Linked DNA regions of Homo sapiens: region 2 is linked to region 1. Evidence: promoter capture Hi-C in 16 types of primary human blood cells and fetal thymus (Javierre and others, 2016). All regions are on one chromosome and are shown on one strand. The core of a region is centred on a gene start or on the middle of the fragment in contact, and the rest is flanking DNA. Distances in the headings are between cores, read along the strand shown.

Region 1 (5,953 bases), core at 1-2,500:
CTAGATGGGTCCGTGGGCCGGAGGGCTTTTCCGCTAGCTACAGTGAATCTGCTTCACCACGAATGGGTTTCCCCATTCAAAACCACCTCCACCCCTGTGTCAAGGCTGCGCTCCATTTATCTGAGCGGTCAAGGTCAGCCCCTGGCTCACACACCTTCGAGTCCCCTCCCCCGCGCAGCTGGCGCAGGATCCAGGACGGCAGGACGGTGTGGCCTTAGGGAGGGCCAACGGCTGCCTAACGTCCTGTGCCCACCCCGCCCCGCCCCACTGTCCCCTGAAAGCCTGGCGCCAATGACCCGCGAGACATTTTTTGCCTGGGGTGCTCCTGTCGGAAAGGAAAGAGGAAAGGACGACTAAGAACTTATACTCGAACTCCCGAATTTCTCTTTTCAAGGTTTAAGAGGAAAGCTGGTTCGTGGGGATTGGATGGGAGGCCACCAGGAAACCAAGTTCCCGCGCCAGCTTCAGTGCTCTCCTCTTCCCGCCGCCTTTGCCCCGCCCACATCACTTTCGCTCCAGTTTTTGAAAACGCTGCGAAGCGGAATGGTCCACAGGGGAAAACGGAGGAGGGGCCAAAGCCAGGACTTTGAGACCGGCGCGCGGTCAAGCCCAGGCAGCTCTCCCTAACCCTCCAGCACTGGGCAAACGCTGCCCGATGACGCCCGCCTCGGGGGCCACGGCATCACTGGGGCGACTGCGAGCCCGGCCGCGGAGCCGCTGGGACGCGGCTTACCTCCCGGCTGTCGCTGCTGTGTGTGTTGCCCGCGCCAGTCACGTCCCTAATGGGACCCTCCGTTTCGGCGTCTGTAAGGCGAGGAGGACGATGCGTCCCCTCCCTCGCAGGATTGAGGTTAGGACTAAACGGGGTCCGCAGCGCCCGGCAGCTCCCGAGCGCTCTCCCCAGCCGCGCCTCCCTCCTTCCCGCCACCCGTCCCGCAGGGGCCCGCGGCGTCACCTCTCAGGCTGTAGCGCGCCTGCATGCCGAATACCGACAGGGTGCCGGTGCCCGTGCGGTCGTCCTTCCTGACGCCGCAGCGGAGGATGTGTTGGATCTGCCCCAGGTACTGCAGCTCCCCGTGCGGCGGACGCGGCTCGGCGTCCCGCTCCTGTGCGGCGGGGGGCAAGGGCCGGCGCGGCAGCTCCGAGCCGGCCACAGGCATGGCGCGGCGGGCGGGGGACGGAGGCAGGCGAAGTGGCGCGGCGGGACGGAGGCAGGCCAAGTGGCGCGGCGGGACGGAGGCAGGCCAAGTGGCGCGGTGGCAGGACCCCTTCCGCGCGCCTTTTCCCGCGGCCGTCCCGCGCTCCGCCTCTTCCTGCTCGGCGGGGTCGCGGCGGCCCCCGCTCTAGAGAGCGTGCGCCAGGGGGAAACGCAGGAGCCACGGGTGTGGCACAGAACGGAGCCCAGGGCCACAGCTGAGAGTCTTAGGAAACCCGGGAACCTGGATGCAGGTGCGGTGGCTGGGAAGGACTGCGCCCTTTGGGAACCGTCTGGTCGACCGCGCCTTCTCTAAGCCAGCAGCACAGTTCCCACGTTTTCCTGCGGTCTTGTCAACAAAACTGCTGTTTGAGATCTGTTTCCTACAACTAATAAGGGATTTGCATTTCCATTTCTTCGTTCTCACTGAAGCAACCGAAGCAAGTGGTATAATGCAGCTTTTCTACTTGATTAAAAACCGCCAGGGCGCTGGACGCGGTGGCTCACGCCTGTAATCCTAGTACTTTGGGGGGCCGAGGCGGGTGGATCACCTGAGGTCAGGAGTTCAAGACCAGCCTGGACAACATGGTGAAACCCCCGTCTCTACTAAAAGTACAAAAATTAGCTGGGCGTGGTGGCTACTTGGGAGGCTGAGGCAGAAGAATTGCTTGAACCTGGGAGGCAGAGGTTGCAGTGAGCCAAGATCCGACCATTGTACTCCAGCCTGGGCGACAGAGCAAGACTGTCCCAAAAAAAAAAAAAAAAAAAAAAAAAAGACCGCCAGGGCTTTTCCGAGGTTTTTTGTTTGAGCCCTGGCGGTCTTTTTTTTTTTTTTTTGAGACAGAGTCTCGCTCTCTCACCCAGGCTGGAGTGCAATGGTGCGATCTCGGCTCACTGCAACCTCCGCCTCCTGGGTTCAAGCAATTCTGCTGCCTCAGCCTCTCGCGTAGCTGGGACTACAGGCGCCGCCACCACGCCCGGCTAATTTTTTTTTTTCATGTTTAGTAGAGACGGGGTTTCGCCATGTTAGCCAGGCTGGTCTCAAACTCCTGACCTCAGGTGATCCACCCACATTGGCCTCCCAAAGTGCTGGGATTACAGGCGTGAGCCACCGCACTCGGCCCCAAGTTTTTAATAGACCACATTTCCCAGTTTTACTGAATTGTTTATAACATTAACACTGGGGAGTGGGAACTGTTGATGAAAAGAGTTAAACTCTGTAAAATATCTGAAGAAATTTATTCTGAGCCAAATATGAGTGACCAATGGCCGGTGATAGAGCCCTCAGCAGATCCTGAGAACATGTCCCCAAGGTGGTTGGGCTACAACTTGATTTTTTATACATTTGGTTGAAAGAATTGTTATCTAAAGATCTGGAATCAATAGAGGGCTGGGCGCGGTGGCTCACGCCTGTAATCCCAGCACTTGGGAGGTCGAGGCGGGCAGATCACGAGGTCAGGAGATTGAGACCATCCTGGCCAACATAGTGAAACCCTCTCTACTGAAAATACAAAAATTAGTGGGGCGAGGTGGCACACGCCTGTAACCCCAGGTACTCAGGAGGCTGAGGTAGGAGAATCGCTTGAACCCAGGAGGCGGAGGTTGCTTGCAGTAGCTGAGAAAGCGCCACTGCACTCCAGTCTGGGTGACAGAGCCGTATGGGGAAAAAAAAAAAAAAGATTTGAATGAATAGAAAGGAATATCTGGGTTAAGATAAGGGGTTGTGGAGACCATGGATTCATCATGCAGATTAAACCTCCAGGTAGCAGGCTTTAGAGAGATAGATTGTAAATGTTTCTTGTCAGACTTAAAGAGTGTGTTCTACCTGTCTTGAGGCCTGTGTTGATGTCAATGCTGGTCAGCTGTGCCTAAATTCCAAACGGAGGAGGGAATAATGAGGCATGTCTGGCTCCCCTTCCCATCATGGCCTGAACTAGTTTTTGTGGTTAAATTTGGAATGCCTTTGACCCAGAGGAGTGGTCTTTTCAGATGGTTCTGGGCGTAGAATTTTATTTTTGGTTTACAGAACGATTTTATAATGAGTTTAAAATGCACTGATACATGTGTTGTACTTGCAAGCATCCTTTTACCTCAACGGTTGATTGAGTACAGAGGTGCTCTCAGCATTTTGGGTGGGACTTTTCTTAGCTGGACCGGTTTGTTCTGCACATTGCAGGGCTTTAGCAGGACTGTGGAAAGCCAACCATATGTTGGCATTCCCCCACCCCACACCAGCTGAAAACTGTCCCTACACGTTTCCCTACACGTTTCCGAGCACGAGGAAGATCCCAGGCTGAAAATATTCCAGATTATCCAGATGCACGTTATCTGTGTTTAATTTCCTTGTGTTATTCTTTTTCCTTTTTTTTTTTTTTTTTTTTTTTTGAGGTGGAATCTTGCTCTGTCCCTCAGGCTGCAGTGCAGTGGTGCTCAGCTCACTGCAAACTCCGCTGCATGGGTTCAAGCAATTCTGCCTCAGCCTCCCAAGTAGCTGGAACTATAGGCGCCTGCCACCATGCCCAGCTAATTTTTTTTTCTTTTTTTTTTTTTTTGCATTTTTAGGAGAGACAGGGTTTCACCATGTTGGTCAGGCTTGTCTCAGACTTCTGATCTGAAGTGATCTGCCCACCTCGGCCTCCCAAAGTGCTGGGATTAAAGGCGTGAGCCACCATGCCCAGCCTTACTTGTGTTATTTTTTAAAAACCTGATACATAATAATTGTGAGGTAGACAGGGCTTGACTCTGGAGGCAGGGCTCTGACATGGGACCAAATTGAGGAGTAGTCAAAACAAGGATGGGGCAGAAGTAGTTTTCCATAAGACGTGCCCACCAGTGTGCCATGTCAGTTTACGATTGTCATGGCAACATCCAGAGCTTACTGCCCCTTTCCATGGCAGTGAGCCGACAACCGGAAGTTACCACCCTTTTTCTAGACATTTCTGCATAATCTGCCCCTTAATTTGCATGTAATTGAAAGTAGGTTATAAATATCACTGCAGACCTGCCTTTAAGCTACTGCTGTCAGCACACTGCCTATAGGGTAGCTCTGCTCTACAGGGGCACTCAGGGAGCTGTTGCCATATCAGTAGAGCTTTTCTTCTACCAGGTAGCTCTTAAATTCTTTCCTGAGCAAAACCAAGAACCCTCCTGAGCTAAGCCCAATTCTGGGCTCACCTGCCCTGCATCAGTTGCACATCCTTGTGTGTTTTTTTTCTTTCTTTCTTTTTTTCTTTTCGACGGAGTCTCGCTCTGTCACCCAGGCTGGAGTGCAGTGGCAGAATCTCAGCTCACTGCAACCTCTGCCTCCCAGGCTCAAGCAATTCTCCTGCCTCAGCCTCCCGAGTAACTGGGATTACAGGCACCCATCACCATGCCCAGCTAGTTTTTGTATTTTTAGTAGAGATGGAGGTTCACCATGTTAGCCAGGCTGGTCTCGAACTCCTCACCTGAAGTAATCTGCCTGCCTCGAGCCTCCCAAAGTGCTGGGATACAGGCGTGAGCCACTGCACCCGGCCCCTTGTGTTATTTTGAGGCTGGTTTATTTGTTTCACCCAAATACCAGCTAAATCACATCTCAAGACTAGGCTCCTCTGCCCACATGGAGCTTCCACTTCTGCTGCCTTCCTTGAGTATCTTGGCTTGATAGTAAAGACAGAATGGTTCTTTTCAAAGTAGTTACTCCATAAATGTTGGTTAGAATGAATGGTTCTCTCAGACAAATTTCATTCATTCATTCATTAACACACATTTATATCATGGTGCCTTCCTCATGTCTACAAACAGCAAGACAGACAAGGCCCTTTTCTTCATAGAACTGATATTCTGGCAGTGACAAACACTACAAAAGTAACCAAACAAGACATCTGCAGATAGTGACAAGTGTGATGATAGTAAATTAATGGGTATAGCACTAAACAGTGATTGTGTAGAGGGTGCTTTAGATCTGATCACCAGGAGGCCTCATTGAGGAAGTCACATTTGAGCTGAGACCTGAATACTGGGAAGAAACCAGCAGGGGAAGATCTGGGGAAAGAACATTCCAATCAGCAGGTGCATTTATACCAGTAGGTGCCACAGTGCTTGCATCTATAAAAACATCCCCCAATAGGGACGGTCATGATGCTTAATCCTGTCTTGTTCTAGGAAGAAATAATAATTATTAGTGGATACGTTAACTTATTGGAGTATAAAAAGCTCTTCCTTCTCATTAAGAGATATATTTGTTTAAAATTTTACTTTTATATGTTTAGTAGTCATAGAAATTTGTAGTATATTTATGTTATTTTGATCAATTATGTACAAAAAATAATTATAATGATCACCCAATCTAGAATAAATATTTCATACCTAGAATTTGATGTCACAGGATGTTCTTAATTTTTAAAATTTAAAAATGATCAAAATTGTGTTGATCAACAAAAGATATTTAAGCATAAAAATATACTACATTAGGATAAAATTCTTAGGAATGTAGATTGAAATAAGAGTTTAGGGAGAAAATGTAATGAGATAAAATTTCTCATTGTTAAAGAAAAACTTGTATATTTGTTTAAATGGATGATGCTGGGTCAAATTGCGATGATATTTAGATTCCATTTGGTACATTTTAAAGAGGGATGACCTGCTAATCTTTACGATGCGTGGGAAAATAACAATTTGCTATTCTTTCAACTTATATAGAAAAATGACATGCAAGTATGTTGCAACTTTTTCAGTTTCCTTTGAGGAAGTATGAGAGCAAAAATATTTGAAAATTAT
Region 2 (5,953 bases), core at 1,554-4,053, 200 kb before region 1:
TGGATCACTTGAGTCGCGGAGTTCAAGACCAGCCTGAACAGAAAAACAAGACCCCGTCTCTACAAAAAATACAAAAATTAGCTGGGTGTGGTGGCGCATGCCTGTAATCCTAGCTACTTGGGAGTCTAAAGTGGAAGGATTGCTTGAGCTCAAGGAGGCCGAGGCTGCAGTGAGCCAAGATCTCACCACTGCACTCCAGCCTGGGCAACAGAGTGAGACCTTGTCTCAAAAAAAAAAAAAAAAAAAATCTGATCTGCTGGCAGTGAGCAGCAATCTGCCAGAGCTGTGCCCCCACCACCACCCCCACCCCCGCCCACCCAACAAACTAGAACAAACTAACCCTCAGTTTTCCAAACGTTTCAAAGACATGAATCCTGGAAGTATCCACATACGATTCCTCTGTTGAGGTGAAACCTAATCAAACTATGTTTAATCCCTCCAGAAATGAATCCTCTATGATTTGTTTTTAAGATGGAATGTCAGTAAAAGACTGCATTTTCAACATATGTGCATTAGGCGATATTATGATATCATAAGGTCCAATGGCAAGCATGTTTTCCTTTCTTTTAGAACTTATTGATGTATTTTATTTTTCATAAAAGCCAGGTATGTTATTTACAGTTAGTTCTACACTTAGACAGTTATTAGAATAAAAGATGAAACATATTTATTATTACACATACAACATATATATTATCAAAATGAGTTTCTAAGTTTTTTGTTTTTTGTTTTTTGTTTTTTTGAGACAGAATCTCACTCTGTCACCCAGGCTGGAGTGCAGTGGTGTGGTCTTGGCTCACTGCAACCTCCGCCTCCCGGGTTCAAGCAATTTTCCCGCATCAGTTTCCCAAGTAGCTGGGACTACAGGTGCGTGCCACCATATCCAGCTAATTTTTGTATTTTTAATACAGATGGGGTTTCACTGTGTTGGCCAGGCTGGTCTCGAGCTCCTGACCTCATGATCCGCCTGCCTTGGCCTCCCAAGGTACTGGGATTACAGGCATGAGCCACCACTCTCAGCCTCTACGTTCTTTTTTTTTTTCCTCCTGGCTACAAAGACGCAGAAAACTTTCTAAGTTCTCAAAGACAATAGTTCATTTTCTTTTTTATTGACAATCTTTATAACCACTGTTTCCATTTTCAGTTAGTTCATTTATAAATTCCCAGAAGCATGAAACCAACTCATTTTCTCAGTCACTAAAAGCTTCCTAAGTTTGTTTGTTTGTTTTTTTCCTAAATTGCTACTTTCAGGCTGGATGTGGTGGCTCACACATGTAATTCCAGCACTTTGGGAGACCGAGGTGGGAGGATCGCTTGAGACCAGGAGTTCGAGACCAGTCTGGGCAACATAGCAAGACCCTGTCTCTATTTTTAAAAAGATAAAAATTGATTTATTAATAAATTGCTACTTTCAGCCAAACTCAAAATATCTCCTCTTTTACAAACCAGCCTGCTGAGTATTCTGGGTGAATACAGGAAGCCTGGCATTTAGCTTAATCTCCATAGAAAAGGATAATGCTCTACATTATGAAAATGAAGGTGTTCTCACTTAACCCAAGATGAATAGGCTTGCCCCATTCTACTACCACTGTATTACTTACAATATTAAGCCTCACTTTGAAAACAATGGATGCATTAAATTAATAAATGAGAAAATGAATCACCAAAAAGGTTAATATAATGCATGATTTATTGTATTACAAATAAATCGGGCTGGGCGCAGTGGCTCATGCCTGTAATCCCAGCACTTTGGGAGGCCGAGGCGGGTGGGTCGCCTAAGGTCAGGAGTTCGAGATCAGCCTGGCCAAGATGGTGAAACCCGATCTCTACTAAAAATACAAAATTAGCCCGGTGTTGGTGGCACATGCCTGTAATCCTAGCTACTCAGGAGGCTGAGGCAGGAGAATCACTTGAACCTGGGAGGCAGAGGTTGCAGTGAACTGAGATTGCACCACTGCACTCCAGTCTGGGCGACAAGAGTGAAACTCCATCTCAAACACACACACATAAATTGGACACTTCCCATGCTTCAGGTACACCAATTCCAAACACAAAACTCAGCAGCAAATCTTTCTTCTTCTAACCCAGGTTCATGTTTGAAGTAATAACATGAGGGCTGTAGGAATAACTTTTGCCCAAAAGTGCTTCCCCCATAAGAATACTGAAATTACTTTTCCCATTAAAAATTCTGTGAATGATGATTTATCTTCTTCTACCAGTTATCATTAAAAATAGCTAATTTAAATTTTTATGAAGTAACTCAGAAATCTAACTGCCAAAAACCCTAAAGAGAATGAAGATATATTCCACTTTGAATGACAACAGCTAATGAAATGTTATTCTTCTGTGTAATGAATAGAGCAGCCAAAAGTCTGACACGAGCTATATTTTTGGCTTCAGCCTCACACCCAACCCAAGAGGAAGGCTCAGCACTCCTTGGCTCTATCCTGATCCTCTGTGGCTTCTCTGGGGGTTCCTTCCTGAATAATCTCACTCTTGCCCTCCATTCTCTTCAAGCCTACTCTTTTCCAAAAGACCCAGGGGGAACCGACCAGACAGTTTTGTATGAAATTCCTCAAATTCTAACCACAAATGTATTTATGGAATAGACAGAAAACCTGTTGTGGGTTCATGGTGAGGAGAAATGTTACTGTAGGAGGTGGAATTCTAAGATGTCCCCCAAGATTCCTGCTCCCTGGTATACAGGCTCCGTCTCACCCTCACCCCCTGAGCGTGACTGTGACTTGAGCCTATGATGGGACAGTTGCTCTCGTGATTATGTGACATCCTGTGACCAGTGGGATTTTGCAGATGTAATTAATGCCCCTTAGCAGCTGACTTTGTTGTGTGTATGTGTTTTTGGGGGGTTTTGGGGGGTTTTTTGAGATGGAGTCTTGCTCTTGTCACCCAGGCTGGAATTCAATGGTGCAATCTCAGCTCACTGCAACCTCCACCTCCCGAGTTCGAGTGATTCTCCTGCCTCAGCCTCCTGAGTAGCTGGAATTACAGGCAACCGCCACCAAGCCCAGCTAATTTTTGTATTTTTAGTAGAGACGAGGTTTCGCCATGTCGGCCAGGCTGGTCTCAAACTCCTGACCTCAGGTCATCAGCCTGCCTCCACCCCACAAAGTGCTGGGGTTATGGGCGTGAGCCACCATGTCTGGCCTGTGTTTATTATTATTATTATTATTATTATTATTATTATTATTATTTGAAAAATTGCTTAATTCATTGCCAACTTTTTTTTAATGGGACACTTCACCCCCTTTGTTGAAAAATATCTGGTACCCTGGCCCAGCATTCCTGTGTGTCCACAGCTGGCTGGAACATCCCCCTACCTGGGGCCATGCTCTCCTGTAGGCCACAGTGCTGCTGGGGCTCTACGGTGGCCATCTGTGTTTGAGACCCTGAGCAATGGCCATCAGACAGAGGCTGACCCAGTTGGAGGGTGTTATCTCCATCCCCTGAGGGCCCCAAAACTTATCTATCTCAGATATAAGAACTTGGCTCCTCACCATTCCAAATGGGGAGATAAGGGCCTGGAAGACAGAATGTCAATCCACCTTTATTAGAGGAAACCCTGCACTGTAACTGTTTTAAATAACGTATGCCCTGCCCCACCCAGTGCCTGGTGGGCTGCCAGGCATACTCAACTTGGAATGGTGGTGTCTTCCAGCTTCTGCTGCTGGCTGGCAAAACTGTAGTAGTTGTTGGGGCCCAGGACCCACCCTCACTTCTTGGTGTTGTCCATCATCTGTTTGGGTGTGTTGAGGAAGAGGATCCAGGTGGCCTTGGTGAAAAGGATTTTCTCATAGGCCTTCTCAATGCACCCAGCCATCTCATCCCTGATAGTGTCAAGCAGGATGTGGATGAAGGTGTAGCTCTTGGCAGGGATGTTACCCTTGGCCAGGAACACCTTGTTGTAGCCGCCCTCCATCAGGTATGGCTCCAGGGACACAGGGCGCTTGATGTAGGCATTGGTCTGTGTGTCCGTGGCAGGCAGCCACTCCAACTCCATGTGGAACTCAGCCACCTAATCCTGGGACAGCAGGAAGAGGAGGTTGAGGCCCAAGAGCTGGTGCATGTAGGCTGACTTGGGTAGCTCTTAGCAGCTGACTTTCAATCAATCGAAAGGAAAATTATCCTGGATGGGCCTGACCTAATCGGATGAGCTCTTCAAAGTCCCTGGGCCCATCCTGAAGGAGAGATTCAGAGTATAAGAGAGATTCTTCCACTGGCCTCACAGGAGCAACTGCCATGTTGGAGAGAGGACCACAGGGCAGAAAACCACAGGCAGCCTCCAGAGTATGAGAAGGGAGCCCAGTTGGCCAGCAATAAGAAAGCAGAGACCGCCATCCAACAACCCTTAGGAACTGAACTCTGCCAACAACCCATAAGCTTTAGATGAAGACCCTGAGCTCCAGGTGAAATTGCAGACCTGGCTGAAACCTTGAATTCAGGCTTGGGAGGCCTTGAGCCCAGGACCCAGCAAAAACATTCCTAGACTCTTGACCCTGGAAACGTTTTTCCATCTCTGAATGTGATATATCTCTCCATTTATTTAGCTCTTCAGTGTTTTCAATAAGGTTTGCATTTGGTTTTGTAGCTAATTCTAAATGTAACTGGGTTTCATGCTCATTACCAGTCCTTTATGCCACCATCTCACCATCTCTCATTTCTTAAATTCTACATTTCATCTAAATTTTGATTTTTTTTTAAATCTCAGCTCACTGCAAACTCTGCCTCCTGGGTTCAAGTGATTCTCATGCCTCAGCCTCCCGAGTAGCTGGGCTTACAGGCGTGCACCCCAATGCTCGGCTAATTTTTTTTTTGACGGGGTCTAGCTCTGTTGCCCAGGCTGGAATGCAGTGGCATGATCTCGGCTCACTGCAACCTCTGCCTCCTGGATTCAAGCAATTCTCCTGCCTCAGCCTCCCAAGTAGCTAGGACTACAGGCATGCATCACCACCTCCGGCTAATTTTTGTGTTTTTCGTGAAGACAGGGTTTCACCATGTTGGCCAGGATGGTCTCGATCTCTTGACCTCGTGATCCACCCACCCTCCCAAGTGCTGGGATTACAGGTGTGGATGCTCAGCTAATTTTTTATACTTTTAGTAGAGACAGAGCTTCACCATGTTGCCCAGGCTGGTCTTGAACTCCTGACCTCAAGTGATCCTCTCACCTTGGCCTCCCAAAGGGTTAAGATTAAAGCATGAGCCACAGCCCCCAACCAATTTTGATTTGTCTCTTGATGAACTGGGATGTATCAGAGCTTTTGCACATATAATAACATATTTCTTTAGTCTTCTCAAACAGATAACAGTTTGGCCAAGCATAATGTTCTCTAATTGTACACGTTTCTCTGCCAGCACTGATGGCATTGATCTGGTATTTTCCAGCATTCATAGAGGTCTAAGCCTCTGTTTTGTTCCTTTCAGGCAACCTGTTTTTATCTGCATGGGCTTTTACAGCACAATATTTCTTCTCTATCTGTGCAAAAGGGTAAAATTGCACTGAACCAATGGTCATTACGTGGTGCTATGTCACTGTTAGGTGGAGTACACAGGTCTTGGAACCCAAAGCATAGAAGTAGTGGCTGTCCCTGCAAGTTTAGACTCTGCTGGACCCCAGGTCCTGGTTCCCTGAAAGGGTAATACTTCTTCCAAAGGACTAAATAAGGGGTTCCACTGAACCTAGCGCTTCAACTGCCATTTGGAGCTTCTCATGCTAGTGAATCAGAAAGCAATGTGGAGCTGTAGCATGAGCTTCCTGCCATCCTGTTGTAAGTCTAGTTTTGAGAAATTTTGACTGGTCACCCCAGAGGAACTGGTGACAGAATGCCATGAACCAATTGGGGCATGAATGGATCCGAGTGGTGCAAATGCTGGACAATAGTGACGCCCCCAATGCAGCCCCCGTATCTCCAGTCTCTTAATGCAGCCAGTCTGACTT

The links. The method cuts DNA at HindIII sites, captures the fragments that hold promoters and counts their contacts. A CHiCAGO score of 5 or more calls a contact.
Region 2: a contact is called between a fragment that was not itself captured here and the fragment with the promoter of TYMS in region 1, in 1 of 17 cell types (activated CD4 T cells). The highest score is 5.2, in activated CD4 T cells.

What each region holds. Positions count from the first base shown.
Region 1 is chr18:652,950-658,902 of GRCh38, reverse strand. TYMS (thymidylate synthetase) reads right to left here and starts at 1,250. Exons shown (of 7, transcript NM_001071.4): 1 at 956-1,250. The coding sequence starts at 1,160. It overlaps TYMSOS (TYMS opposite strand RNA), which reads left to right and starts at 612. Exons shown (of 2, transcript NR_171001.1): 1 at 612-1,061. RefSeq lists enhancers at 538-657, 525-1,024, 1,025-1,526 and silencers at 888-937, 1,108-1,287. The HindIII fragment of the contact is 8,200 bases long and covers 1-5,953 here.
Region 2 is chr18:854,678-860,630 of GRCh38, reverse strand. It overlaps the pseudogene LOC441806. Among named protein-coding and RNA genes, the nearest start is that of YES1, 45 kb to the right of the region's middle. The HindIII fragment of the contact is 3,194 bases long and covers 1,207-4,400 here.